3 separate regions of the Homo sapiens genome follow, and regions 1 and 3 are each linked to region 2. Evidence: promoter capture Hi-C in 16 types of primary human blood cells and fetal thymus (Javierre and others, 2016). All regions are on one chromosome and are shown on one strand. The core of a region is centred on a gene start or on the middle of the fragment in contact, and the rest is flanking DNA. Distances in the headings are between cores, read along the strand shown. Region 1 holds the start of PIP4K2A (phosphatidylinositol-5-phosphate 4-kinase type 2 alpha). Region 2 holds the start of MIR1915HG (MIR1915 host gene). Region 3 overlaps PIP4K2A (phosphatidylinositol-5-phosphate 4-kinase type 2 alpha).

Region 1 (3,661 bases), core at 1,062-3,561, 1.2 Mb after region 2:
GCAACGTAAGTGGTTACAGTAAAACATACACAATTACAAGATTTTTTAAGGCAAACTGGAATTCAGACGAGTTCCCAGAAAGCACACTCTTTTTCGGCAGCATATTGTTGACACTACCTTACTAAATTAAACCCCGAGACAGAAACACTCTCCTGACCAAAACACCAGAACTCCAAAGGAGATAAAAGCACCATAAATATGAGTAAGCACTACAGTATTCATCCTTTTTTTAAATTGTAAGTTTCTATTCTAGTAATAAGGGACCCAAAAACTACTAACATAAATAATAAAAGAGCTTAACAAAATTATACATAACTCTACATTGTAAACTTATTACTTAGGAAAAATTGCATTTCATTTTCCGTAATAAAACTTGAGAGAGGAGTTTTTGGTGCAGTAATGCATGCTCTTGTAACAACTTACATTCCCAAATAGCTAAAGAAGTTGCCAGGAAGTTAAAATGAACTTCAGTGAGTCAGTCATTAAGCTGGATAAAAATAATCATTTCTCAACTTTTCCAAAAACACTCACTCCATGCAAACACGATCGATCCTGATACTGTTTTGCCCTTCCCCCTGCTCAGCTTGGGGAAGAAAAATACAAAAACGATGCTTTTAGGCATTTTAAACAACTTCACTACATTGAGGGTGTGTGTGTGTGTGTGTGTGTGTGTGTCTGTGTGTGTGTTTTCCGAAAAACCAGCATGGTTTTCTGTCATTTCCATTACGCTGAAAAGGACATACAGACATCCATCGAAATCAAAAGCAGGGAAAGCGAACTTACACTTTTCCCCAGATGCTAAGTGACTGCAGTGGCTAAGGTCATGGTCAAAATTCACAGCTCGTTTAAACTTTCCTGGCTGAGCCAACAGCTCCGATCATGTTTCCTGATCCTATCGAAGTGGATTAAAACTGCAGGAGTTTCTCGCTGTCAGATCAGCAGGAGGCTATTTCAGACCCTCGAACCGCAGTCCGCATAGCCCGCAGCGGCGCATCCTCCAATCCCCGACTGTGCGTGACGCTAACCTTTCCACGCGTTCTCCAGCCTTTCCCACACCCCCCACAGCGGGTGCGGCCAACTCGGGACCCCCTCCGCCCGCGCCCGCCGGGACCCCCGCCTGCTGTCCCCGCCCCGGCCGCCCTTCCGCAGTCGGTGACTTCTGCCTGACTCCCCAAAGTGGGGGGAGGCGACGAAGGGAGGAAGACTCCCCGCCAAGGGCTCTCCAGCCCGCACAGCGGCAGGGCGATGCGGGAGAAGCGCAGGGATGCCGCCCGACGCCAGAGCCATATTTACATCGGCTGCTGCTTTGCCAAAAAGCCGACTTGTGCCCAGTAATATTGCCTTTAAAGGAAAAAGAAAGGACCTAAGCACTAAAGCTGCTGCCCCAAATCTGCTCGCGCTCCGGTATCCTCGCCCCAGTGCCCCAGTGGGAGGCTCGCACGCGCCCAGCCCGGGACAGGTACACCTGCCCGCAAGCGGAAGACGCGGGCGCCGCGCGGCCCCCACACCGGGTAGCGGTCGCCCGGACCCGGCCCCCAGCAGCTCCCGCCGGGGCTGACAGCCGAGGCGCCGTGCCCCGCACAAACTTCCTACCTCCCAGGCTGCGGGGACCGACCTGCGGGCGGGCGGGCGGACCGGGGGCGGCACTGGCACCCACCGTGAGACTCACATGCACACGGGACCCCCGACCCGCACCGGGCCATAGATCTAAAGGGGACGCAAGTGGTGGTGCCTGGGCGGCCCAGAGGGCTGGGGGCACGCGCCGCGGGGCTGGGGGCTTCGAGGCGGGCGAGCAGCCGGAGGTCCAGGGCTGACTCCGGCTCCCCGCCCCGCAGCAGCTGCAGCCGGAGGAGGAGGGGAACGAGGAGGAAGAGGAGGAGGAGGAAGGGGACCGCGCGCCGCAGCTGAGCCCTTACCGAGTGGTTTACCCCCCACATGAGGACGCTGAGCAGCGGGTCGCTGGCCCGAAACAGCTTCACTTTCTGCGCTACGAAGTGCTTCTTCTTGGTCTTGGTCTTGCTCGCCAGGACAGAGGACCCTAGGTTGCCGGGGGTCGCCATGGCCGCCTCCTATGTCCCCTCCACCGCCGTGCTCCCGAGGCCGGGGACCCGCCCTCTCTACACCCCGGCCCGGGGAGGCAGCCGCATCCCCCCGGCGGCGGCCCCGGCGCGCCGCGCTCCGCTCCGCCCGCCGCCGCCGGCGCGCTCAGCCCCACTCGGCTCGCTCCGCCCGCTCGGCCCGGCAGACTGCGCTCGGCTCGCGCCCCGGCCCGTATCCTGCGCCCGCCGCGGATCCGCGCTCAGCCCGCGGCTGGACCCGGCGCGCGGCGAGCGGCTTCCGCGTTGGGCGCCGGCGTCATGACGCAGGGGGCGGGCGGGCAGGCGGGAGGCGGCTGCGGCGCCGCGGGCGGGGCACTGGGTGCGGGGCGCGGGGCGCGGCAGCTGGACCGTTAGGCTGCGCCTTCCCGCCCCGGCTCCGCTGCAGCCGGGCCGCCCCCTGTGCGCGGGCGACCTCCGGGCGTTCGCTCCCTGCCCGCGGAGGAGGCCGTGGGTTGCGAGCGGGAGCCTGGGGACCCCGGCTAGGCGTCCCCTGCCGCTCCCCAAGGAGGGAGAGGACAGAGTGGGCAGAGTGAGGAGGTTGGGGAGAGGAGCCCCCAGGCGTCGATCAGGCGAAGGAGGGAGGCTCATGCACTCACCCACGCCACGAGTCAGGAGACCCAGCCAGGTGTGAAATGCTGCAGGGAGACCAGGGCTTCCCAGCACCGAGGGGAAGGACCCGGGCACATTGCCGGGTCAGTCCCTGAAATGAACTTAATACTTTTGTGCGGATAACCGTCTGGCCTTTCAGACCCTCGATATGGGCCTCCTGGAGCCATTCAAGAGGGAGACTCCCACGTAATAGGCTGGGCTGTCACTGCCAACCCACTCCGTGCCCGGGGCAGGAACCTCGGACCTCATCGAGAGCCCTTGGCTTAACCAGTAGAATCATGCCCCAAAGTGCACCTTCTTCCAATCCATCACTATGGTACTTGCCATCCCTGCCTGTTTTCCAGTGCACTCACCGTCCGTGGAAATCTGTTCACCGTCTTCCTCCAGATACACCTAAATGTAGCCCTTATTATGCTGAGAATACTTGGCCTACCTCAGGAAGCTGCCATTCCAAGTATGTCTAAAACCCTGCTGCCCCCATATCGTCCTTGCAGTCGTCATCCTGTGCTATTTACTCTGACCCAGCTCACCAGTCCTCACGGAGTAGGTTCTTGGAAACTGTCACCTTAAGCAAAACAACATATAACAAAACCAAATTTGCCATAGGCTGACATATAAAAAAAGAGTTAAGTTCCTACAGCATTATTTCCGGTTACAAAAACATCACCGAACTTCAAAGTAAAAATTCAAAACACTTCTAATATTAAACATTAAAATAAATGTGAGCTATACCTCTTTTTTATTTTTATTTTTTCCCTTGAGATAGGGTCTCGCTGTGTCAACCAGGCTGGGGGTGCAGTGGTGCAATCACAGCTCACTGCAGGCTCTACTTCCCCAGACTCAGGTGATTCTCCCACTTCAGACTCCCCAGTAGTTGAGACTACAGGCGCGCACCACCAAGCCTGGATAAACTTCTTGTATTTTTGGTAGAGATGGGGTTTCACCATGCTGCC
Region 2 (3,323 bases), core at 627-3,126:
CCGAAGGAGAACCCCGGACCGCCCAGTCTCAGCCTAAAAACTTGGATCCAAGAGTCCTACGGTTGTGGATGTGCCAGTCCTCCGCGACCCTTTCCTGCTGGCCTTCTGCTTTTTATAAACGAAAATAAAAGTTTGATTTAGGCTTAAAGAAATGTCATTCTGGTCGTTCCTCCCTGAAGCGGGACTTACTCAACCTCATATACTCGCCCGGAATTTTCAATCTCGCCTGTCGAAATCGCTAGCTGCGCATCCGCGGAAGAAGTCCTGGATGAGAGGTAGGGTGAAGGGATCAAGCAGATAGCAGCAGGCATCAGCACACTCCGGCCGTTCCGGACGGTCAGGCCCGCCGCTACAGGGAGAAGTGCGGCGGATGGAGCCAGGGCTGCGGGTTGCGCGCGGGCTGGGAACCCGGTGGTGCCACCTTAAGAGTCGGGTCCGCGCAGCGGCTGCGGAGGCGCCCGGCACCTGCAGGGGGCGCTGCTGCCCCGTGGTTTCTCCCGCGCCGCCGCGTGCAGCGGGCCTGGCAGCTCCGGGGCCCCGGTCCCCGGAGGGGGTGGGGACGCTGGGGGAGGAAGGGAGCGAAGTGCAGCCGTTAGGTAACGAACCCGAACCCTCCCGGATTCAGAAGCGGCCTCAGTGAGGCGTTTGCTGGAGGGAGCTTTCCATCATTCGGCCGCGAGAGGAAACGTGGGGAGGCGCCCTCCCCTGCCCCCACCGCCTGCCTTCCTGCCTCCCTCCACCTCCGCTCCCCGACCCCGACCGTGCTTCCCAGACCCTTTGTTCTCGAGGTTGGGAACGGCTGGGTGGGGGTTCCCCGGGGAAGAGGTCCCCCGCGCCGCTCGGAGGGGAAGGGACTGTCGCCTGCCCCGCACCCCAGCCCTCCCCAGTGCCGTCCCCCTTTCCCCCGGCCCCTTCCATCGCGTCCACGCGCTTCCGTTCTCACTCGGACTCCCCCAACTCCCGAGCTCCGGCTCCCCAGCCTGCACGGTCTGCAAGCCCGCCTCCCTTCCCACTTCCCCGCCACCTCTGAGGTCCCCGGGAAGAGGGGAGGAGAGGGAGACGTGTGGGGGAGGAGAAACCACAGAGCCTTCTCGGCGCGGAGCATTCCCAGGGACCCTTCCAGGCCCCGACCCCTGGGACCCGCTGCAGAGGCAGGGCTTTCCCGGCGCCGCCGCAGGTCGCTAGGGCCGCCCCCGCCGCGTCGCCCTGGGGCCCACGGGTGCACGGCCCGGGCAGCAAGGCAAGGTGCGGCCTCTCAGCGCCAGGACCCGAGACCCCCAGCTGGAGAGAAGGGGACACCGTGGTCCGCGCCCTGGGGAGGCTAATTGCACACGAACGCCCCCCTCTTCCCCGCCCCCCACCGTACCCTCTGCAGCGCCACCCGCGTCGCCTCTCCGCCGTGCGCCACCCTGAGGGCTCCCGCGATTGCATCTTCTTGAGCACAGTTACCAATGCGTTCAGCTTCGTTTCTTACTCGGATGGAGACATCGCGGAGGGAAGCGAGGGGACAGGGATGCGGTAGTAGGGGAAAGGTGGGGCGGGAAACCGAGCAGAGAGGTGGGAGACTTGGCTGAGGCAATGGCACCAGGCAGGGCCGCCCGGAGTCCCGAGTCCAGGTCCGCGAGGCAGGCCCCGGTGCAGCCGCGCCCCGGCCGAACCCTACATGTCCTCTGTACTGTGGACACGAGTCCGCGGAGCGCCAGTCACACCCCCGCACCCCTGCAAGCTCCCGCCGTAGAGGGGGCTCGGCACCATCCTGGTCACAAAGTACGTGCCCCCACCCCCCACCCCCAGGTGAAGAGGACGCAGCCCGGCGCCGTCAGCTCCAGGCTGCCTGGAGCCCCCTCCGGCCTCTCGGCGCGACCCTGGTCCTCAATGGCTCGTCGCGAGCTGCGCTAGCTGCTCTCTCGGCAGCGGGTTCCCCAGGACACACCCAGTCCCCACCCCCCGAGAGCTGGCGGCCAGCTCAGGATGCCAGGCGGCCAGGCGGGCGCCCTGCCAAATTCCGCGTTCCTCTCCAGGAGACGGGGAGTTGCGTCCCAGGCTCGGGAAAGCCCGCAGTTCGGGCTTGGGACTCGCTTACAAAGCCCCCCAAGGCGCCAGGGACGCCTCTGCAGGTTGAATTCCTGCTCCGTATCACTTCAATTTTAATTAATCTTTTAAAACACCGCTGTCACGTCGCTTGCAGAAAATTAATCAAACTTGAATCCTTGTTGCATAGCAAGAATTTCGATCCGAGTCTTTTAAAAAGGACTTGACTTTGCAAAGTCACGTCTTTTACAGTTCCCTCATTCCCCCTTTAGCAAGGGAAATACTGCAAAAGTCAAGACATGTTTGTTTGGTTCTTTCTATCTTCAAAATGAAACTTTGCTTATTTCTGATCTTTATTTTCCTGTCTTTGAACAAAAAAAAATAACGAGATAAATTGCCTACCTCGATTAATTCAAAGTATAATTACTTTGAATGATCTTTGTTTAAGAGCCCAGATAAACTAAGATAATCTTAATTTTAATGTGACACGACCCCTATTTTTCCTTGTGAATAATGAGAATAAAGCAGTCATTAATTAATACCAAGATATCTCCATAGAAGATGGTATCTGTTCTCGCTGAGACACTGAAACATCAGTTGTATTAGTAATTGATACTGTATAATTGAACATGAAGATAGCCGTCTATTTTTAACCTCCAAGCTCAGAGTTTATTTGGTGATTATTGAGCTCCTAATAATTAATTTTTTTCCTTCTTACTGCATAAATAATTCTTACGACTCCCAGTTCCCATGCAATGCAGAGGCTTCTCATTAAAACCTACCCCTCAAAATATAAGATTGTGAAGCTATATTGTGCAGCAACTCCTTCTATTTCATTATTTGTAACATATTTCCTCTATTTCATATCTTCCTGGTGCATTTCCTTTGCTGTGATTTTCCTACTAAATCTATGAGAATATAACTATAACATCTTTTACCATAGCTTTGTCTTTCTGTGATCTCTTGGTTCAGTTTAATACACAATACTTAAGACTTCAATTTTTCAAGTTACTAAAATTTGAGGATGAGTTCCACTGAAGAATCAAAAATACTTGTATAGTGAAGTTGCCATGGATTATATTCCCAACCTAACACACAGTCCACTTTAACTCACACTTTTCTGTTGTTAAAAATAGACTTTGCTCAAACACATTCCCTTTTTCCAACTTGAGTTGAAGAGAGTTCTCACAATTTCCTGGGTTAAATGTACATGCTAACACAACCTTTGACATTAAAAAACAAATTCCCCTCCCGCGTTGGAGAGAAGTCTTCCAAACAGTCATGGAAATTTA
Region 3 (3,692 bases), core at 713-3,212, 1.1 Mb after region 2:
AATTCAAAAGAAAAGCTGGGAAACAAATGGTCTGGTGAATTCCTAAGTATGGATGACAATCACGGTGTCTCATACACAGCAGATGTCCTGTGTTTACTGCATAAATGGCTGGAGAAGAATCACAGGCCAATTTCCTGGGCTCCCTTCCCCTCCTGCACTGGACACCCCTAACTATCGTGAGGTCAGCCAAGCCACTTGCTTCTTTACCACCTGATGAAAAGACATCTATTGCCCTGGGTTACTTGAGTTAGCCATTCATTAAATGAACTTACAGTTGGCTTGGGAAAAGTGAAAGTGGCTTTTAGATTGGCCATCTGCAAAGAAATCAAAATTTTTGATTACTGGCTTTCATCGAGCAGCTCAGGCATTGACTAGGATTGAGCTTCCTGCAATTCACAGATGCGGAAACTTGAACGGAAGAGACTCCTCACATTGGGGAAGGGAGCCAAGACCAGGCTGGGGGGGTCTCCCCAGGGCCGATCTTCCATCCCCCTGGTGCTCAGTGCCCCCAGGACTGGAAGATCCGAGGGACGCTGCTGCTGGCCCAGGGAAAATGTTCAATGTTTCTCAGGGCGATTCAGAGCAGCCCAAAGCTGACCCATCAGATGGAGACAGATAATGTGAACCATTCATGAAGGCAAACCTGAGAACCCATTCTACGACCACAGTCCGAGCCCCTCTGCACAGCCATGCCCAGCAACTGTTACTTGCCATGGTCTACTTTCCTTCCTTTAGGGATTCCTGAATATGGACCAGAAGTACCTTCCTTTACACACTGATTTTTCACAACGAATGTTCCCAAATACTTTTTAAAAATGGGACATTTGTAATACTTGAGCACTGCCTATGATGCTGGGAACAGGAAGAAACTATTCTACTTTGAATTCTTAACCAAGTTCTTGGGGTGTGTGTGTCTGTGTGTGTGTGTGTCTGTCTGTGTCTGTGTGTGTGTTTCCTCTCCTACAATATAATCCACCCTGCTTCTGATTCTCAGGGAAGCTTCATCTGTATGCAAATGCTGATCATTAGCTTGGGAACAACAAAACACAAAACTCATCCAAGTTTAAATTAATTCACAATAAAAAATTATTAAAAAAAATAGAAAAGGAAGGCCAAGAGTTTAAGCCATGAAACAATGCCAGATGTACAGGTTCCATCACAACTGAGAGCACTGGCAAGAACAGAGTTTATCTATGCCACAAGCCAGAAAGGGAGATGAAACTGTGAAAAAAGCAAGGCAAATTAAAACTAGAATATCCAATCTCTAAGTATAATTTACTCCAAGATATGTTTACCAGATGCCTACTTGTCCGAGGCGCTATCTTAGGCATTGCAGGGGGATTAAAAAAAAAAAAGTTAAGTAGAAGAACATACTTGCCCTTGAGGCACTTACACATCAGGAGAATGAATGAGGCAACCAAGATTCATTAACTCCCATATGCCATGCCTCACGCTGGACACAATACATATGTATCTTATTTAATTCTCAAAACATCCCTGCAAATGTAGGTAAAATTATCCCTATTTTAACAGATGAAGAGACGGAGGGTCATAGAGGTTCAGCAACTTACACAAGGTTAACAAGTCATAAAAGAACAACATGTGACTTTAGAGGTCACTCTGGCTTTCTTCCCTGGGGAAGTCAGACAGAGTCCTGTGTGCTCTGAGCAGTACCGCCAAGGCTTCACGAAAAGAGCTGGTGCTGGCAAGGGCCCTGGAGGATGGCTGGGATTTCCCCAGGGGCAATTCCAGGGGCACAAAATGGCTTGCTTGGGCGAAGACTTTAAGACAGGACAGGACAAGGGTGTATTTGGGAAGTGGATCCAGTGTGTGGGGACTTCAGAGGTTAGGAGACAAGCCCAGACCATTTCCTTCACTTAGACTAGCATTTCTCTAAGCATGGTTCAGAACCCTGGGGTCCCAAGACCAAAACTATACAAAGCCAAAACTATTTTTATAATAATACTGAGAAATTATTTGCCTTTTTCAGCGTCTTGATATTTGTATAAATAATGCAAAAACAATGGTGGGAAGAACTGCTAGCAGTTTAGCATAAGTCAAACAGTGGCAACAGTGGGTATTAGTAGTGTTTGTGATTTAAAAAAAAAAAACAATGAAAAAAACCAGCACCATCTAAGAAACCCAGCGTCATTTCAGAAACCTCTGAAGCCACACATCCTGGTTTTTGTGACTTGTGAGCTGTGTACGAGTTGCTGAACTTCTGGCTAAGATGGTGTGTCATACAAGTAGGCATCTAGTAAACACATGAAAGCATAACATTAAATGTATCAAATCTAGACCCAGGAGTACACGTCTTTTCAATATTCTGTGCAGGAAATATACATAAAGCACTTCTGTTTATAAAGAAGGAATGATTTCTTAAGAACTGTTTTCGTGACGGTTTGAGTTATGAGTTGAACTGGCCATCTTTTTCATGAAACAACACTTTTACTTGAAAGAACAACTGACAGTCTATGTTTATTTAGATCTGGGCATGTGACTGATGTTTGCTACAAAATGAATGAAGCTGCTAGGCTCCCCTGTATGCTGGGGTGCTTGCTACATGTGGTCATTTCACAGAAAACAACTGACAGGGCTTGTGGCCAGTGATAAAATTTGAGATTCCAAGTAAAAAACTGATTTTTAAAAAACTTATATCCACCATCCTGGGCCTGACCGCTTCCCAATATGTAAAAGACTTTTCTGATGACATTGGTGGTAACACTGTTATGACTTTTTGATACTGTATAATGAAATGTGTCAATATTTGGAAGAGTCAAATAACTCAGTGAACCAATGTGTTCCAAATGGCAAGTGCATGCCTTGGCAAAATCACACATTCAAACAATGCATGCAAACCAATCAATGGATTTCGATGAAGAGTACAAAAAGTTCATTGATATGATTTCAGATTTCATAATGTAACTAAGCTTTGAGAAATTACCTCTTGTCAAGCTTTGGTGTAGTATCAAAGAAGAATATCTACAATTATCCAAAAAAGTTGTTAAAACATGCTTTAACAACTTTCCAAACTTCATTATTGTGTGAGTTCAGATTTTCTTCACATACTTCAGCGGCATAACACCACACAGACTGACAGCGGAATCAGACAGGACATTCCAACTATCTCACATTAAGTCAAGACATTACGGAGATTTGCAAAAATGTAAAACAATGCTACTTGTCTCATTCATGTTTTTGCTTTTGGAAAATAGTTATTTTTCATAAAAATGTTAACATGTAATGTTTTTCTCATTTTTAAAGAAACTACATATTCTAATATTTCTTATATTAATTTTTAATACTGTAAATATCCACAGACACAACTCACATCTGCAAAAGCTTTCGAGTGTCCTCTTGTAAGAGCGTGAAAGCGTTGAGACCAAAAAACTTGAGAACCAAATGTCAGAGACCAGAGTTTGGCAAACTTTTCTGCAAACAGTCAGTGGGTAAACGTTTTAGGCTTTGTGGTCCCAAATGGTCTCTGCGGTAACTACCAAACTCTGCCATTACAGTGCAAAAGCAGTAACAGACAATACAGAAACAAGGGGCATCGTGGTATTCCAATAAAAATGTATTTATAAAATTGGCCCAGCCAGCCGCGGTGGTTCATGCCTATAATCCCAGCACTTTGGAAGGCCAAGGTGGGTGGATTGCTTGAGCTCAGGAGTTCAAGATCAGCCTGGGCAACA

The links. Contacts are between HindIII fragments. The CHiCAGO score rates a contact against its expected background, and 5 or more counts as called.
Region 1: a contact is called between the fragment with the promoter of PIP4K2A here and the fragment with the promoter of MIR1915HG in region 2, in 3 of 17 cell types (neutrophils, total CD4 T cells and naive CD4 T cells). The highest score is 6.6, in neutrophils.
Region 3: a contact is called between a fragment that was not itself captured here and the fragment with the promoter of MIR1915HG in region 2, in 2 of 17 cell types (total CD4 T cells and naive CD8 T cells). The highest score is 5.3, in total CD4 T cells.

What each region holds. Positions count from the first base shown.
Region 1 is chr10:22,712,267-22,715,927 of GRCh38, forward strand. PIP4K2A (phosphatidylinositol-5-phosphate 4-kinase type 2 alpha) reads right to left here and starts at 2,312. Exons shown (of 10, transcript NM_005028.5): 1 at 1,917-2,312. The coding sequence starts at 2,060. RefSeq lists silencers at 1,048-1,157, 1,458-1,577, 1,748-1,827, 2,128-2,797 and enhancers at 1,958-2,566, 2,567-3,174. The HindIII fragment of the contact is 12,209 bases long and covers 1-3,661 here.
Region 2 is chr10:21,495,384-21,498,706 of GRCh38, forward strand. MIR1915HG (MIR1915 host gene) reads right to left here and starts at 1,877. Exons shown (of 2, transcript NR_160800.1): 1 at 1,367-1,877; 2 at 1-562. MIR1915 (microRNA 1915) reads right to left here and starts at 1,258; the gene lies at 1,179-1,258. RefSeq lists silencers at 358-797, 848-897, 1,108-1,357. The HindIII fragment of the contact is 8,649 bases long and covers 1-3,323 here.
Region 3 is chr10:22,568,741-22,572,432 of GRCh38, forward strand. The region is part of intron 5 of PIP4K2A (phosphatidylinositol-5-phosphate 4-kinase type 2 alpha); the gene reads right to left. Among named protein-coding and RNA genes, the nearest start is that of LINC03027, 130 kb to the left of the region's middle. The HindIII fragment of the contact is 1,931 bases long and covers 998-2,928 here.